Regions from separate parts of the Homo sapiens genome. Here region 2 is linked to region 1. The links are contacts of gene promoters, found by promoter capture Hi-C in blood cells and fetal thymus (Javierre and others, 2016). All regions are on one chromosome and are shown on one strand. Each heading gives the region's core, a stretch centred on a gene start or on the middle of the fragment in contact. The rest is flanking DNA. Distances are from core to core; before and after follow the strand shown.

What was found. Contacts are between HindIII fragments. The CHiCAGO score rates a contact against its expected background, and 5 or more counts as called.
Region 2: a fragment that was not itself captured here is called in contact with the fragment with the promoter of AQP9 in region 1 in 2 of 17 cell types (M2 macrophages and M1 macrophages); the score reaches 5.8 in M2 macrophages.

What each region holds. Positions count from the first base shown.
Region 1 is chr15:58,136,217-58,139,918 of GRCh38, reverse strand. AQP9 (aquaporin 9) reads right to left here and starts at 1,538. Exons shown (of 6, transcript NM_020980.5): 1 at 1,243-1,538. The coding sequence starts at 1,353. The HindIII fragment of the contact is 735 bases long and covers 1,324-2,058 here.
Region 2 is chr15:57,863,937-57,867,389 of GRCh38, reverse strand. No RefSeq gene overlaps it. Among named protein-coding and RNA genes, the nearest start is that of POLR2M, 160 kb to the right of the region's middle. The HindIII fragment of the contact is 1,245 bases long and covers 944-2,188 here.

The DNA of each region.
Region 1 (3,702 bases), core at 289-2,788:
TGTCTTACTACATAATGTCTTGCTACATTATGACAGTGAGTGTGGTCAGAGCAGCCAGGAATGAATGCCAAGGGAAGATGAGGAGTGCAAGAAATTGTCCGTAACTCCCTGAAAATACTGTAACGAATCTGGTCTAATGTGTTTCTCAGAGACCAGAAAACTTATGACTCTCTCTTCACATTCCACTAGTTCAATTTTTTGAGTTCACATTTGTTTCTCATTCTTGGCTTAGCTGATGCATTCCAAGCTTATTCTTCTAAATTATTATGTATTTGCCCCAAGCAAAGAACTTTTAATGCACAGAGTTTATGGGCTATTCTCTATAACTTTAAGGAAAATGAAATTATTTATACCTGGAGTAGGAAATCCTTAAGCAGGATAAAAAAAACCAGTTGAAATCAATAGTTGCCACATGATAATACATTTCTATTCACAAATGGCCTGGTTCCAGGTAAAACTTCAGGATACAGAGAATGCTAGAACGTGCAGCAAAATGAAAGCCCAGACCACTTAAGTAAACTTTCCAGTCTCTTGTTAATAGCTGAGTAAATCTCTGGGCAATCCTCAAGAGGTTCTTAGAAGTCGTCCCTCGTTTATATCTAGAAGGTTCTTGTAATTGTCTTGTAAATCTCCAAAGATATTTAGAGATTACTTTGCTTTAAATAGAGACCAAAAATGACACAAAACTAAAGCTGGACTATTGCCTGGTACACTATTTCTACCTAGTGCAATTTTTAATTTCTTAAAAATCAAGTGATCTGACAGCACAATACTTGTCAAGTACTTGTCATACTGAGATGTTTCTTGCCATCCATATGTATATTTTTGCCAACTATATTTATTGACTATTGATGCTTATTCCAGGTGGCTGAGTCACCCCAATGCTTGGAGGAAGCAAGCAGGGTACAAATCAATTGATCAATGAAAACACTAACGACTGACTTTTAAATCACAAAGCCATTTTAGAGTATAAGTAAATACCTGAAATAAAGAAGGCACTTCACTCACTCCTTCTCTTCCATTCCCATCAACTTTTGTGGGTAAATGCAATAGGTAATTGAAAACTTAATATCACAACCCCTAAATAGTCAAACAGCCTCTAGTAACTTGTTTCTTCCTGGAAAAGATGAATCTGATCCCAATTAACTTAAATAAAACAAACCAAACAAAACTCTCCACTACCAGCCTGGCAGCTAGGGAGGCATTATTGGGTCTGAATGTAGGAAATCAGGAAATACTTACAATCAAGATGAACGTGCCCAAGAACTCAGAGAGGGTTTCTTTCGCTAAGCTGCTCTTCAAGACCAGTCTCTGCTTGAAGCTTTTTCCCTTTTCTGCTCCCTCAGGCTGCATCTTGGGGCTTCTCTGAGGACTCCTGTTTCTACCAATACCTACCTGTTGTGGTCCTCACTTTCACAGCCAGATGAAAATGGACGTTTTGACAATGGCTCACAGATTCCTGGAGATGTCTGGTAAGAGTCTCTGACTGTACAAATGCCGTTCCAATTAGAGGCTGTGGCTTAATCGTCTTCTGGTGGAACTGTCATTCCCTGTTCGCTGCTATTTGTTTGAATCTGCGACTTAGAACCCGAAATCCCCAAAACAATCCCTTTTGTGCCTGACAGATTAATCATTACCTTTATTCTCAAGGTACTTTTTTCTCTGTTGGTTTTTTTCAAGAGATGAGAAAAGAGATGTGCCAGTTGTGTTGCCAAATCACAGTGACGGGCCCTGGTCCAGAAAAGATTTTCATGTTACACAATTGCAGGCTTCTGATTTTTTTTTCTTCTCATTCAGAAGTGGGTGGTTGGGGTGTAGTTTGGAACTGTCAAATCAGGTGTAGATATATCCAATGTTAACATTCTTTTCTGAAAAAGGTTTTTATGCAAAATGAAGAATTTGAAGAAAATATAGATTTATCATCCTAGAAGATTAATCACTCTTGTTTTCTTCTGGTATCATTTCAGTGGCTTCATGATACCACTCTGAGGTTAGTAAGAACCACATAGGCCATCCTAGAGATGGAGAAATTAACATACAGAGAAACCATTGCAAGCTTCACACTGCAAGTCTGTAGGACAGATGGAGTCACCTCTTCGGTTATGAAACTGGGCTTCACTTGCTGAAGATACTTTAGGATCCAAGAATCAGAAAGATGGAGGAGTCACCTTTTTGGTGACTTCTGAAGTTTCTTCTGAAGAAACATTCCAGTTTGGGTTTCTTCTGAAGAAGCATTCCAGTTTGAAAATAGTCACTCTTCTTCATTCACCATGAAATATTTAGACATAATACATAGGAAATAAACAATAGCAGCTTGAAATTCTTTACTGCATGGAGATGACTGAGCCGGAAAGAGATCAATTAGCGTGTATGTCATTCTAATCAAACGAGAAAGGGAGCCAGTACACCTAACCGAGGCTCCTAGGTTATACCCTTTCAATTTGATAAATTGACATCCTTGCTGGCAAGAAACTGTGTTTGGGAGTAGCTCCTTGTCCTGCCAAATATTCAAGCCTTGTTTTTCAAAACTGGCTTATCTGAAGAAATAGAATATAGCATTAGTTTCTAAATAGCAAGGCAGGCCTAGTTTCTGATTACCAATGTGGACTCATGGAATTAGTATCCATGCTGTGTGGTTCCTTCCAGTCCTCCCACAGGGAAGCCAGCTCTGCATCAGGCCCTCCCCTAGCTTTGCAAAAAGGGAGGGAGGAGAGGACATGGAGAAAGCAGCTGGTGAGAGGCCAAAGGCAGAAGGAGACTTCTCATCTGTAGGTGACATTTAGAATTTAGACTTTAAAAAGTTATAACCTGCCTGAGGCCACACTACTGCAGAACCAGGACAAAACCTCAGCACTTTGGCTTTAATTCCTGATGAAGTTATCATAAATACCATTGTCTAGAAGAGTTACCTATGACCACACCATTACCAAGTCCCAGTGGATGGACCAGAGAAACAGGACTTTCTTACTGTGACTACAGCTAATAACATGCAAGAGCGTTCTCTGGTCTTCCCATTCACTCATCTAACAACTATTTACTGCACACTCATTATGTGCCAAGCACTGCACTTAACAAGAGCACATAGGGTTCTTGTCCTTCACAGAGCCTAGAGTCTAGTGAAGCAGACAGATGTAAGTGAAATAATCCCACACACATAAATACAAAATCACAACTGAGATGTATGCTGCAAAGATGGGGGCCATATTTCCATAAGCAAATATAGCAAAAGGATTTGACTTTGTTGGAGAGATCTCTGATGGCTTCTCCAAGGAAGTCATGTGTGGACTGAGATCAGAAAGAAGCATGGGATTAACTACATGAAGTGGGGAAGAAAGTGCATGTACAAAGTCCTTGGTGGCTTTGGGGGTAAGGGGTAGGGGACAGCATGATGCCTCTCAAAGAATGAGAGAAATTTACTGTGGTTGGCCCCAGAGAGAGTGAAGGAGTACAGCATGCAAAATGAGCCCTGAGGTGTGGGCAAGGGTCAGACCTTACTAGGCCTTGTAAGTGGTAGTTAGGGCTAAAAGTGTAAGTCATTAAGGTGGTTTAAGCAGAAATACGACATGATCAGATTAGAGTTTTGAAAAGATCCTCCGAGCTGTGAGGTGGAGAGGGGATTGGAGGGGGCTTGGAATGGTCATAGGCAGATACATTTGGGGGTATTACAGAATTCCAGAATTGGGTGGTAGTTTGACAGTGGAG
Region 2 (3,453 bases), core at 317-2,816, 270 kb after region 1:
TGAATACGGTCACAGGGCCCTGGGCTGTGAACCCAGCATCTCAGAATAGGCTTTACTTACACAGTGGTCCCCCAGCGAGGCTGTTCAGGAGCTGCTTATCACCAGTGCATGAGGAGGTAAGTTCAGGAATTTAAAATGTGTATTTAGAAAATCTAATGGCAGTTTGACAAACTAACTTTATTCTTGAATCAAATAATAAAAAAAATTAGGACTTATGGTTAAACTGTTGTGCAAATTGGCTGCTAAGGTGCACAAGAGAACCTTCTGGATGATGGAAAAGCTCTGTATCTTGTTACTGTTTGAGGTTAGACAAGTATATGCATTTCTGAAGATTCTTTTTTGAATAGTACATTTAAGATCTGTGCATTTCACAGTATGTGAAGTATGCCTCAAAAAAAAAAATTCGTAAAAATATTGAAACCTGGCTGGCCACAGTGGTTCACGCATGTAATCCCAGCACTTTGGGAGGTCAAGGTGGGCGGATCACTCAAAGCCAGGGAGTTCGAGACCGTTCTGGCCAACATGGTGAAACCATGTCTCTACTAAAGTAAAAAAAAAAAAAAAAAAAAAAAAATTGAAACATCGTCCGTGATATGTATACTGAACTGTCCAGGGGTGAAGTGCACTAATGTCAGCAACTTACTTTAAGTTCATAAAAAAACAAAAAAAAACAAAAAACAAAAAAAAAACCAAACTTGGATTAATGGATAGAAACACGGATCAATAAATAATAAAGCAAATATAACAAAATGCTAATGGTAGGATCCAGGTGGTGGGTATATTGGTGTTCACTGTACAAAGCAATTATTTCGACTTTTTATATATTTTACAATGTTCACAGTAACACTGTTGGAGAAAATCAGGCCTTGTATTTTCTATGTCTTTATTGTGTCTTTCTAGTAACTTTTATTGCATTTTTAAAAAGTAATGGTCTGTAAAAGCTTAGGGGAAAAACCTGGTTCTTGGACACGGATAGTTTGCAAAACAGTCTAGAACCCAACAGAAAAGCCTGAAGCCCAAAGTCTCCACAGAGCCCCCTGGCGCCCAGGGGCCTTAGTGCAACCTTTTTGATCTAATGGCAGATGTAAAAACGCTCTGTGAAAGTCAGTGAGGTTGGGGTCCCTTTCTCCACTGGCCTCAGGAGGAAAGGAGGGACAGGACATAGGTTAATGGAGTGGATCAAGTCCTGCCGTGATCAGAGATAAAATTCCAGAGACCCTCTGACCGGATCTAAGAGTGGTTCCCCAATTTGGCTGTGAATGAAAAGTATCTCAGAGCTTTAAAAAAAAAAAGTAGAGATTTCTGATCTAGTCCAGATATTCAAAATCAGAATCCCTAAAGGGTAGAACTCGGTAGTGTGTGGGGGGGTGTATGTGTAACAAATTGGCCTGGGGGTTCTCACGCAGCTAGGCCACACTGGTGAGGTCTGAGAACCACTGCCAGAGAAAAGGTGACCAGCGTAGATCAGAATCTCATTTTGCTTTAATTTTAAATTAGATCAGAGGTTCTCAAATGGGAGGGTGCATCAGAACCACAAAGGGATTGTAAAAATACAGATTGCTTGGCCTCATCCCCAGAATTTGTTTCAGAAGGTGTAGCATGAGCTCCAAAAGCGTGCAAGTCTAATAAAGTTCTCAGGCAATGCCGATGCTGCTGACTGAGGGGTACACTTTGAGATCACTGCTTTTGTTCAATGGCTACAACTGAAATGGGCCTTTTTGCCAGATTCTCAACTGGAGGTCTAGGCCTGTGCTATGCTGTTCAGTATAGGGGCCACTAGCCACATGTGGCTCTGTAACTTCCAAGTGAAATTAATTAAAATTGAATAAACTTGAACATTTAGTACTTCAGCCATGGTACCCACATTCCAGGTGCTCAGCATTCACTGGTGGCTGGTGGCTCCCCTAGTGGACAACATAGGTCAGAACATTTCCATCATCATGGAAGGTTCTGTTGGGGGGCACCTTTGCTCATTTCTTCAGGTATCATCACCCTTCCATGTCGATCAGCCTTTTGCTTAGACACGAGATTTCACAAAACCAACCAAGCACGTCTATGGCTTTACACACAGAGGTTTCATTTTATTATTTAAAAGTTTCTTTGAGGACCTACTATGGAAAACTACTGTGCTACGTGCTGTGTGAGCCACAAAGATCGATGGAACAATATCTTTACCTTCAAGTAAGCTTATAAACAAGTTACGAAGACACCTGTACACTTTATACCTATTGAGATTTTACTAGAAAACTCTGCCCACTAAGTGCCACCATTCAAAACATAGTAAAGCAATTACCAACCAATCAGAAATGGTTCCAGTCCCAAGCAGAAGGGCTGGTTACTCCCACAAATTAATAGAGTAATAGTGGCTAGCATCAACTGGGCCCTCACCGCGAGCCTGAATAGTGCACTAAGCCTTTGAAATGAATGGGGATGGTATCAGTGCTCACCTCACAGCCCTGCACTTAAACATGTCACATAGAAGGCACTGGAAATCTCCAAAGTGTCAATTTGAGCACCTTTTCTAAAAAATGACCGGCACTCAGGTCTTGCGGGGAGAGGTAGAAAAAGACAGGGAAGATCTATATTGTTATTCAGTTCTGAGAAAACTTTGAAATGTTCTGACTTTCCTTTGTCAATTTTACAAAAGTTTTCCTAATTTCCACTTAATCATCCACTCTTTTATTTGGCAGCATTCTCCTGAAACTTTGGTTTGAGGGCCACACAGGAGATTCAATGTGAAAACTCCCATAGTACTCCTTCCTCTCAGCTTCTACCTTAACTAGTTTGGGTTTGTTGTCATTCAAAACTAATTAAACAGAGGTTAATTTTCAGAATTGGCAGCTCTTAGGTAATTTTAGAAGCTCAATTTTACTTAAAAAAAAAAAAACTCTATGTGTGGGCTTCACATTACAAAACTACATGCAGGGGGATCATTGGTTGTGGTAATAGAAACTCAGAGGGGAAGTAGGCATCAAAGGAATATAAATACATTAAATCTCTTTCTCACAGACACACAAAACAATTTTCTTTTCAAATGCCAAGAGAAGTAATGTAATGATCTGGATATTGCAGGTACCAAATTCCTGCTCTTGAAGAAAGGGATGGATGGAACATTTTTGTCTGAAAAATGACCACAAGGATCAAATCCCCTGGATAATTCCTCCTCTTCATTTCCCTTTGCCAGATCATTTCATCCTGTTCTGAGTTTGCCAGGGAAAGCTTGAGTTTAAGAAAAAGCCTCTGCAAGGAGAAGACTGAATTAAGAGAAAGTCCACTGGGCCCTGCCATTCATTCTGATGAAAGATAGCCATAGAGGCCTCTCTTTACCCCAAGCAGGGCATACAATGGCCACTCTTCGGTTCAGCTTCCCAGCACATGAACCCCACTTTCTCAGCATGCTGAGGGTAGTCAGGCTCTGGCAGATAGACCTGCACTGGCTAAACGCCTGGACAC